Regions from separate parts of the Homo sapiens genome. Here region 2 is linked to region 1. Evidence: promoter capture Hi-C in 16 types of primary human blood cells and fetal thymus (Javierre and others, 2016). All regions are on one chromosome and are shown on one strand. Each heading gives the region's core, a stretch centred on a gene start or on the middle of the fragment in contact. The rest is flanking DNA. Distances are from core to core; before and after follow the strand shown.

Region 1 (4,519 bases), core at 913-3,412:
TGTCTCAGCCTCCCGAGTAGCTGGGACTACAAGCACCCGCCACCACCTCCGGCTAATTTTTTGTATTTTTAGTAGAGACGGTGTTTCACTGTAGTCTCGATCTCCTGACCTCGTGATCCGCCCGCCTCGGCCTCCCAAAGTGCTGGGATTACAGGCGTGAGCCACCGCGCCGGGTGAGGGGTTTCTTAAAAAGCATTTTCATCAGATGAGACCCCAGCCCTGAGGGGAGAAGGAGAAAGAGAAAGAGAAAGAAAGAGTATTTTCAGCCACCACCTGAGGCCACCATGTTCTTCCTCTCTTACACATCTAGTACATACCCCCTTAGGCTTCCCATAAATCCTGTCTTTCCTGTGGATAATTTCTTCAATCATTAGTGGTGTGCTTCTTCTTTCTTTTTTTTTTTTTTTGTTTGAGACGGAGTCCCACTCTGTCGCCCAGGCTGGAGTGCAGTGGCGCAGTCTCAGCTCACTGCAACCTCAACCTCCCAGGTTCAAGCAATTCTCCTGCCTCAGCCTCCCAAGTAGCTGGGATTACAAGCATGCGTCACCACGCCTGGCTATCATTAGTGGTGTGTTTCTCCAATGATGTCCCTAAATCTTCTTCCCTGGGGTCTGCACCTCCCTTGAACCTCCCCATTCTACACCTAGTGCATGCTTTGCCAGGGTAATTCCAAAGGCATCTGGGGGTTGGGGCTGTTGGTAGAAATCCTAGATGTCATGGCTGGATCTTTCCTGGAAGTTTGGGTTGGGACAGGTATTAAACAGGCCACTCTGAATGTATAAATCTAATTAAAAATTTATGTGATTGGTGGGCATTTTTTCCAACCTAATAAAGTCCCTTTCCATCCCCCAGCTCTTTGTATTTTAAAAGCCAGGTCACTAGACTTGATAATTCTAGAGAGAGCTGACTGAAAAGAGTTGGTTTGATTAGAAACAGAGGTTCAACACTTTTACACTGTTGGTGGGAATGTAAATTAGCTCAACCATTGTGGAAGACAATGTGGTGTTTCCTCAAAGACCTAAAACCAGAAATACCATTTGACCCAGCAATCCCATTACTGGGTATATACCCAAAGGAATATAAATAATTTTATTACGAAGATACTTGCACGCATATGTTCACTGCAGTACTATTCACAATAGCGAAGACATAGAATCAACCCAAATGCCCATCAATGATAGACTGGATTAAAAAAATGTGGTACGTATACACCATGGAATACTACACAGCCATAAAAAGGAACGAGATAATGTCCTTTGCAGGGACATGGATGGAACTAGAAGCCATTATCTTCAGCAAACTAACACAGAAACAGAAAACCAAACATTGCATGTTCTCACTTATAAGTAGGAGCTGAACAATGAGAACACATGGGCACAGGGAGAGGAACAACACACACTGGGGCCTGTAGGGGGAGGAGCTGGGGAGAGGGAGAGCATTGGGAAGAATAGCTTAATAGATGCAAGGCTTAATGGGTTGATAGGTGTAGCGAACCACCATGGCACACATTTACCTATGTAACAAAACTGCACATCCTGCAAATGTACCCTGGAACAAAATAAAATAAAATAAGAAATAGAGGTTTGAGTCTTTCCTGGTAAGCATATTTATGCTCTACCACAGACGGTTCAGCCTTGGGGCAAGACAGTCTTTCTCCTAATTTTTGTAGTTTTGAACATTCTAAAGTTTTTGTTGTTGTTGTTGTTGTTTTCCCTGAGGACAGAGGCAACTTTGGGGAAGTACTTTGTCGGGTAGGATGGAATCTGGGGCCTTTAGTTTTCCTTCCAAGAGCCCATAGGAGGTTTTGGGTGCCTTCTCAATGCTGGCATGAGAAAATATAAAGCAGATGGACAGTGAACTTTGGTATATTCACTCCTTATGAATGTTATGTGGAAAAGTGGAAGAACATAAGCTGTTTGTCTATGCTATGTTTACAATTGGTTTGCTCTATTTTGTGCATGTGGACAAAAATGGGGGAAAAATGAAAGCTGTGTTAGGATAATGGGTATACGGCTGAATTTTCCAGGAATTTCTATAATAACACCAAATCGCATGTTTTAATGCCCACCGTGAACAAAGAAGACCGGAACCCTCGCAACTCGTTTTGACGTTTTCTGGTCGGCGGTAAAAGCTCGGTTCCCGGCCCTCCCGGAAGTTGTTGCACAGTTGTTTCCGGGAAGCGGGACTCCAAATGGGTCGCAGTCGCAGCCGCTCTCCACGGAGGGGTGAGTCCTGTAGCAATTCGGAGGATATGGGGCTCTGTTGGAGGCCTGTCCCTTTTGTTTTATTTTGTTTTGTTTTTGGTAGCCGCGTAGCAGAGAGGCGGGCCCTTTTCCCAGGCGGAGAGCGAGGGGTGGATAAAGGAACGTAGACCTGGGCCCTGCCCTCTTCAGCCCGCCCTCTCCGGTTTGAAGGCAGTTGTTTGTCTCTGAATTAGTTTCATTAAGTCTTTGTCACCTTCATACAATAACTTTTATTACACTGTGGCCGGTGGGTTTAGAATTAGACCTCAGTTCCTTTGCTGAATTTCTGGGCGACGGTGGGCAAGTCACTACTCAGCCTTTCTGAATCGAATTCCCAGAATGAGTCATTGAGGGTAGTATTGCCAACTTTTAAAAACTGATGTGAGAATTAATGTCACATCCCATAACATACAGTATGTGATTCTGCCTGGTTCTTAAATACTTAATAAATGTTAGATTCCTGCCCAGGTCATTACAGGGAAATCGATATTAAGAATTTTGAGTCCTGGGAGCTCACTTCGTAATGTTTTCTGGCTACCAGCCCCATAAATGAGGCAGCGCGACGTAAAGAACCCTGGACTTCCATTAGGAGATCTAACTTAGACCCTCGGTTCTGCCCCTGATTCGTTTTTTTTTTAAATCAATTTATTTATTTTTAATGAGACAGAGTCTCGCTCTGTCGCCCGCCCAGGCTGGAGTGCAGTGGCCGATCTCAGCTCACTGCAACCTCCACCTCCTGGGTTCAAGCGATTCTCATGCCTCAGCCTTCCGAGTAGCTGGGATTACCCGTCCGTGCCACCACGCCTGGCTAATTTTTGTATTTTTATTAGAGACGGGGTTTCGCCGCGTTGGCCAGGCTGGTCTCGAACTCCTGACCTTGTGATCCGCCCGCCAGCCTCACAAAGTGCTGGGATTACAGGCGTGAGCCACCGCTCCCAGCCTCTTTTTACCTTTTTAATGTGACTAGTAATGGTTTGCATTATTTTTCTACTGGACGGCGCAGCTCTAGATATTTGAGGTAATTATCAGTTCTGCAATTTGTGTGCGTTTGCATTAGAACGTAGGCGTTCCCGGTCCACATCCCGGGAGAGAGAACGCAGGCGCCGAGAAAGGTCCAGGTCTCGGGAGAGAGATCGGAGAAGGAGCCGCTCGCGATCCCCGCACCGAAGACGCTCCCGGTAAGGGCAGAAAATAAGCCAAGAGTTTTATTTACCGAAAGTCCCTAAGAAACTGGTCGCAGCTCTTAACTTTGTTTTCATCGCTTATAAGGGGATTTACGGTTTCCTGAAATGGAGGAAACTTAATCCAACCTTATTCTAAAGCTAACATTCACCTTGGTTAAATGGTGCTAATAGTACTCTACATCACAAAGTTGTCTTGAAAGAGTAAGTAAGAAATAATGCATGCAAACCCCAGAGCATGGTGCTTGGCAAGAAAAAGAAATAAGTATTTTATATTTTTGTTTCTTTCTTCCGTTCCTTTCCTTTCCTTTTCTTTTCCTTTTCCTTTCTTTTCCTCTTTTTTGAGACGGAGTCTCGCTCTGTCACCCAGGCTGGAGTGCAGCGGCGCAATCTGCTCACTGCAACCTCCGCCTCCCCTGCAATCTCTGCCTCCCCTGGTTCAAGCAATTCTGCTGCTGAGCCTCCCAAGTAGCTGGGACTACAGGCACATGCCACCACACCCAGCTAATTTTTTTTGTATTTTTAGTAGAGACGGGGTTTCAACGTGTTAGCCAGGATGGTCTTGATCTCCTGACCTCGTGATCCACCCACCTCGGCCTCCCAAAGTGCTGGGATTACAGGCGTGAGCCACTGCACCCGGCCTGTTGTTTCTTTTTTATTAACTTTTTGGTGATAATGATTTATTCAAGTATGTAATCAAGAATGGATGATCTTGGAAGAACATTAGAAATGGGCTCTGAGTCTTTTTTTTGGTTTGTTTTTTTTTTTTTTGAGAGAGAGGGTCTCCCTGTGTTGCCCAGGCTGGTCTTGAATTCCTAGGCTCAAGCAATCCTCCTGCCTCTGCTTTCCAAAGTGCTGGAATTAGTAGCGTGAGCCACCAAGCCCCACCTGGCTCTGAGTCTTAATAACCATCAATTGCTGTTTAAGTCAGCTTTTTTGTATATTTGTGTGTGGTTGTTAGAAACTTTTAATTTACATTTTTCTGCCTTCCAGAAAGCTTTCTAGCCCTAGTTGTACTGAATGCAACTGATGATTAAGCAGTAAACTACATTAAAAAATTTTTTTGTTAACAATCAAGGCCTTGGCAGAACCTTT
Region 2 (4,232 bases), core at 272-2,771, 270 kb after region 1:
GATGTACAGGGAGAGGTGAAAGAAAAGGAATCAAGGGACGGTAATAACTAAAAATACCACTGAGATTTCTTTATACAGAGGCAAAAAGAAGGCTTTGATTGACCTTTCTGGGCCAAGAACTGTCACTAGTCCTACTGTTGATCCCTTGCAAACATAAAAAACACAGTGTAGCCTGGGCAACAAAGAAAGACCCAGTGTCTATAAAAAAAAATTTTTTTTTTGAGATGGAGTCTCACTCTGTTGCCCAGGCTGGAGTGCAATGGCATGATCTCGGCTCACTGCAACCTCTGCCTCCCGGGTTCAAGCAATCCTCCTGCCTCAGCCTCCTGAGTAGCTGTGACTACAGGCGTGCACCACCACGCCTGGCTAATTTTTGTATTTTTAGTAGAGATGGGGTTTCACCATGTTGGCCAGGCTGGTCTCAAACTCCTGACCTCGTGATCCACCCACCTCGGCCACCCAAAGTGCTGGGATTACAGGCGTGAGCCACCGTGCCTGGCCAAAATTTTTTTTTAAATTAGCCAGGCGTGGTGGTATGCACCTGCTGTCCCAGCTACTTGGGAGGCTGAGGTGGGAGGATCAACTGAGTCGAGGAGGTTGAGGCTGCAGTAAGCCATGATCACGCCACTGCACTCCAGCCTGGGCAACAGAGTGAGACCCTCCCTCAAAAAGGAAAAAAAAAGAAAAGAAAAGAGAGGCCAGGCGTGGTGACTCACACCTGTAATCCCAGCACTTTGGGAGGCCGAGGTGGGTGGATTACCTGAGGTCAGGAGTTCGAGACCAGCTTGGCCAACATGGTGAAAACCCATCTCTACTAAAAAAAAAAAAAAAAAAAAAAATTAGCTGGGCATGGTGGTGTGTGCCTGTAATTCCAGCTACTCAGGAAGCTGAGGCAGGAGAATCGCTTGAACCCAGGAGGCAGAGGTTGCAGTGAGCCGAGATCATGCCACTGCACTCTAGCTTGGGCAACAGGGTGAGACTCCACTGAAAAAAAAGAAAAAAGACAATGAAAAAACAAACCAACACAGTAGACCCTTGTCATCCACCAAGTATAACATTTCAAATCCGCAAATTTTAAAAAGACCAACACAGCACAGACTTTCCCCCTTAAAGGGTATGCGAAGTAAGATGGGATGAGAACAATGAGGCCGAGGTGGCTGCCTCCACTTGATTCCCTTTTGCTCGCTATCCCCAGGTTCTTGCTATTTGCATTCATGTCTAAGCAAACTAATGACATGCTCTCTCACCCGATGGTCAGCACCATGAATGCTGAGGGACTACAAGTTAGGACACTGCTTACCCAGCAAGCATCTGTCTTTCTCTCTGAATATGACCTCAAGGCAGGTAAAATACTTGAAAGTACTTAACCAACCTCTTAAAGAACCTTGCGGCCAGGCACAGTGGCTCACACCTGTAATCCCAGCCCTTTGGGAGGATGAGGCAGGTGGATCACCAGGTCAGGAAATTGAGACCATCCTGGCTAACATGGTGAAACTCCATCTCTACTAAAAATACAAAAAATTAGCCGGGCATGGTGGCATGCGCCTGTAGTCCCAGCTACTTGGGAGGCTGAGGCAGGAGAATCGCCTGAACCTGGGAGGCGGAGGTTGCAGTGAGCCAAGATCACGCCACTGCACTCCAGCCTGGGCGACAGAGTGAGACTCTGTCTCAAAAAAAAAAAAAGAAAAGAAACTTGTCAGACATTAGGTCAACAAAAAGAGTTAAGGGGAGGGGGTCAAGTGAGTTCAGTCTTTCTTAAAAATTCTGTCCAGACCAGGTGTGGTGGCTCACACCTGTAATTCCAACACTTTGGGAGGCCTAGGCAGGCGGATCACTTGAGGTCAGAAGTTCGAGACCAGCCTGGCCAACATGGTGAAACCCTGTCTCTATTAAAAATACAAAAATTAGCCAGGAGTGGTGACACATGCCTATAATCCCAGCTACTCAGGAGGCTGAAACACGAGAATTTCTTGAGCCTGGGAGGTGGAGGTTGCAGTGAACTGAGATTGTACCACTGCACTCCAGCCTGTGTGACAGAGCAAGACTGTCTCAAAAAATAAAAAAGAATTAACTTCAAAAAGGTAAAACACACACACTCATAGTCAAGGAGCGAGCTGATGGAAACCTGGACAAAGGTGGTAGTAATGGAGATGGTAAGATGGAATAGAGGGTGGTACAGGAATGGGATGGAAGAGGGAATAGGATGGGATGGAAGAGGACTACAAGTGTTTAGCTTATAGTATTATCAATATTCTGTTTTCTGGGCTGGGCACGGTGGTTCACGCCTGTAATCCCAGCACTTTGGGAGGCCGAGGTAGGTGGATCACCTGAGGTCAGGAGTTCAAGACCAGCCTGGTTAACATGGTGAAACCCCATCTCTACTAAAAATACAAAAAATTGGCCAGGCATGGTGGTGCGTGCCTGTAATCCCAGCTACTTGGGAGGCTGAGGCAGGAGAATTGCTTGAACCTGGGAGGTGGAGATTACAGTGAGCCAAGATCACGCCACTGCACTCCAGCCTGGGCGACAAGTGATTCACCTACCTCAGCCTCCTGAGTAGTTGGGACTACAGGCCTCTGCCACCATGCCCAGCTATAGGATCCTTTTTTTTTTTTTTTGAGATGGAGTCTCACTTAGTCACCCAGGCTGGAGTGCAGTGGTGCAATCTCAGATCACTGTAAGCTCCACCTCCTGGGTTCACGCCATTCTCCTGCCTCAGCCTCCCGAGTAGCTGGGACTACAGGCACCCGCCACCACACCTGGCTAATTTTTTTGTATTTTTAGTAGAGATGGGGTTTCACTGTGTTAGCCAGGATGGTCTCAATCTTCTGACCTCGTGATCCGCCCGCCTCAGCCTCCCAAAGTGCTGGGATTACAGGCATGAGCCACCGCACCCGGCTGCTAATAGGATACTTTTAAGGCAACAAGCAGAGACTGGCTAGATCTGAAACTGGTGACGTTCCATGAGACTATAACAAATAACACCCAAATCCAGCCTGTGTTCTCCAATCTTCCTCAGCATGTTTATGTCCCTTTTTTTTTTTTTAGATGGAGTCTCACTGTTGCCCAGGCTGGAGTGCAATGGTGCGATCTTGGCTCACTGCAACCTCCGCCTCCCGGGTTCAAGCAATTCTCCCACCTCAGCCTCCCAGGTATTTGGGACTACAGGCACCCACTATAATGCCTGGCTAATTGTTTTGTATTTTTAGTAGAGATAGGGTTTCGCCATGTTGGCCAGGCTTGTCTTGAACTCCTGACCTCAAGTGATCCGCCCACCTCGGCCTCCCAAAGTGTCGGATTACAGGTGAGAGTCACCATGCCCGGCCAGTATGTTTAGTAATTCTATATAACTATCTTAGTCTCATGTGTTTAGATTTTCAATTTTTCTTTTTTCCATACAGGGTCTCGCTTCGTTTCCCAGGCTGGAGTGCAATGGCACTATTTTTTGTAGAGATGGGGTTCACTATGTTGTGCAGGCTTAGATTTTCTCTAATCTTTTTTCCCCTTGCTTTAAGTTTGAGAGTTAGAATAGTCTCATAAAGCTTCAGTATCTCCCTCACCACACACACACACACACACACACACACACACACACGTGCACACGAACTTATGCAAGCAATAAGACTACCTGCCTTTACTTATTATTTGCTATGTTTTTTCTCTTCTGTCTCTAAATTATAATAATTTTGCTGCGCCTGAATTTTAACTATGTGATTGTTTTTTTCTTTCAATTAGATTTCTACTTTCTTGTGGCCCAGTGCTCTCTGGACTGAAGTCCAATTACTTTTCCTATCAGAGGAGAATTACAGCACAATTACCTTAATTTCTCCTACTTTCAGCAAGAGCCCAGTTAGATGAACAATACTTACCATCAAACTGATAGTGCATGGTTTGATGGATGCGTTCTGTGACACTGGCCAGCCAGTCTTGGAAGGATAAAGTCACTTGTGCCTCATCTAACAGCTGACCACAGGCTAGGGAAAAAAAAACCACACATACACACTTCTTTAGTAACTTTTCTTACAAAATAAACAGCTAATTGAAGTTTGAAAAAGTTAACAAGTTTTTTTATTTTTATTTTATTTTTTTGAGACAGAGGTTCGCCCTTGTTGCCCAGGCTGGAGTGCAGTGCACAATCTCAGCTCACTGCAATCTCTGCCTCCTGCGTTCAAGCGATTCTCCTGCCTCAGCCTCCTGAGTAGCTGGGATTACAGGCACCCGCCACCACACCC

Evidence for each region. Contacts are between HindIII fragments. The CHiCAGO score rates a contact against its expected background, and 5 or more counts as called.
Region 2: a fragment that was not itself captured here is called in contact with the fragment with the promoter of SNRNP27 in region 1 in 11 of 17 cell types (naive CD8 T cells, M1 macrophages, monocytes and 8 more); the score reaches 9.7 in naive CD8 T cells.

Annotation. Positions count from the first base shown.
Region 1 is chr2:69,891,794-69,896,312 of GRCh38, forward strand. It overlaps SNRNP27 (small nuclear ribonucleoprotein U4/U6.U5 subunit 27), which reads left to right and starts at 2,163. Exons shown (of 6, transcript NM_006857.3): 1 at 2,163-2,225; 2 at 3,301-3,421. The coding sequence starts at 2,192. RefSeq lists enhancers at 1,788-2,723, 2,466-2,525, 2,724-3,658. The HindIII fragment of the contact is 14,817 bases long and covers 1-4,419 here.
Region 2 is chr2:70,165,688-70,169,919 of GRCh38, forward strand. C2orf42 (chromosome 2 open reading frame 42) reads right to left here. Exons shown (of 10, transcript NM_017880.3): 6 at 3,870-3,974. Among named protein-coding and RNA genes, the nearest start is that of C2orf42, 23 kb to the right of the region's middle. The HindIII fragment of the contact is 4,037 bases long and covers 1-3,540 here.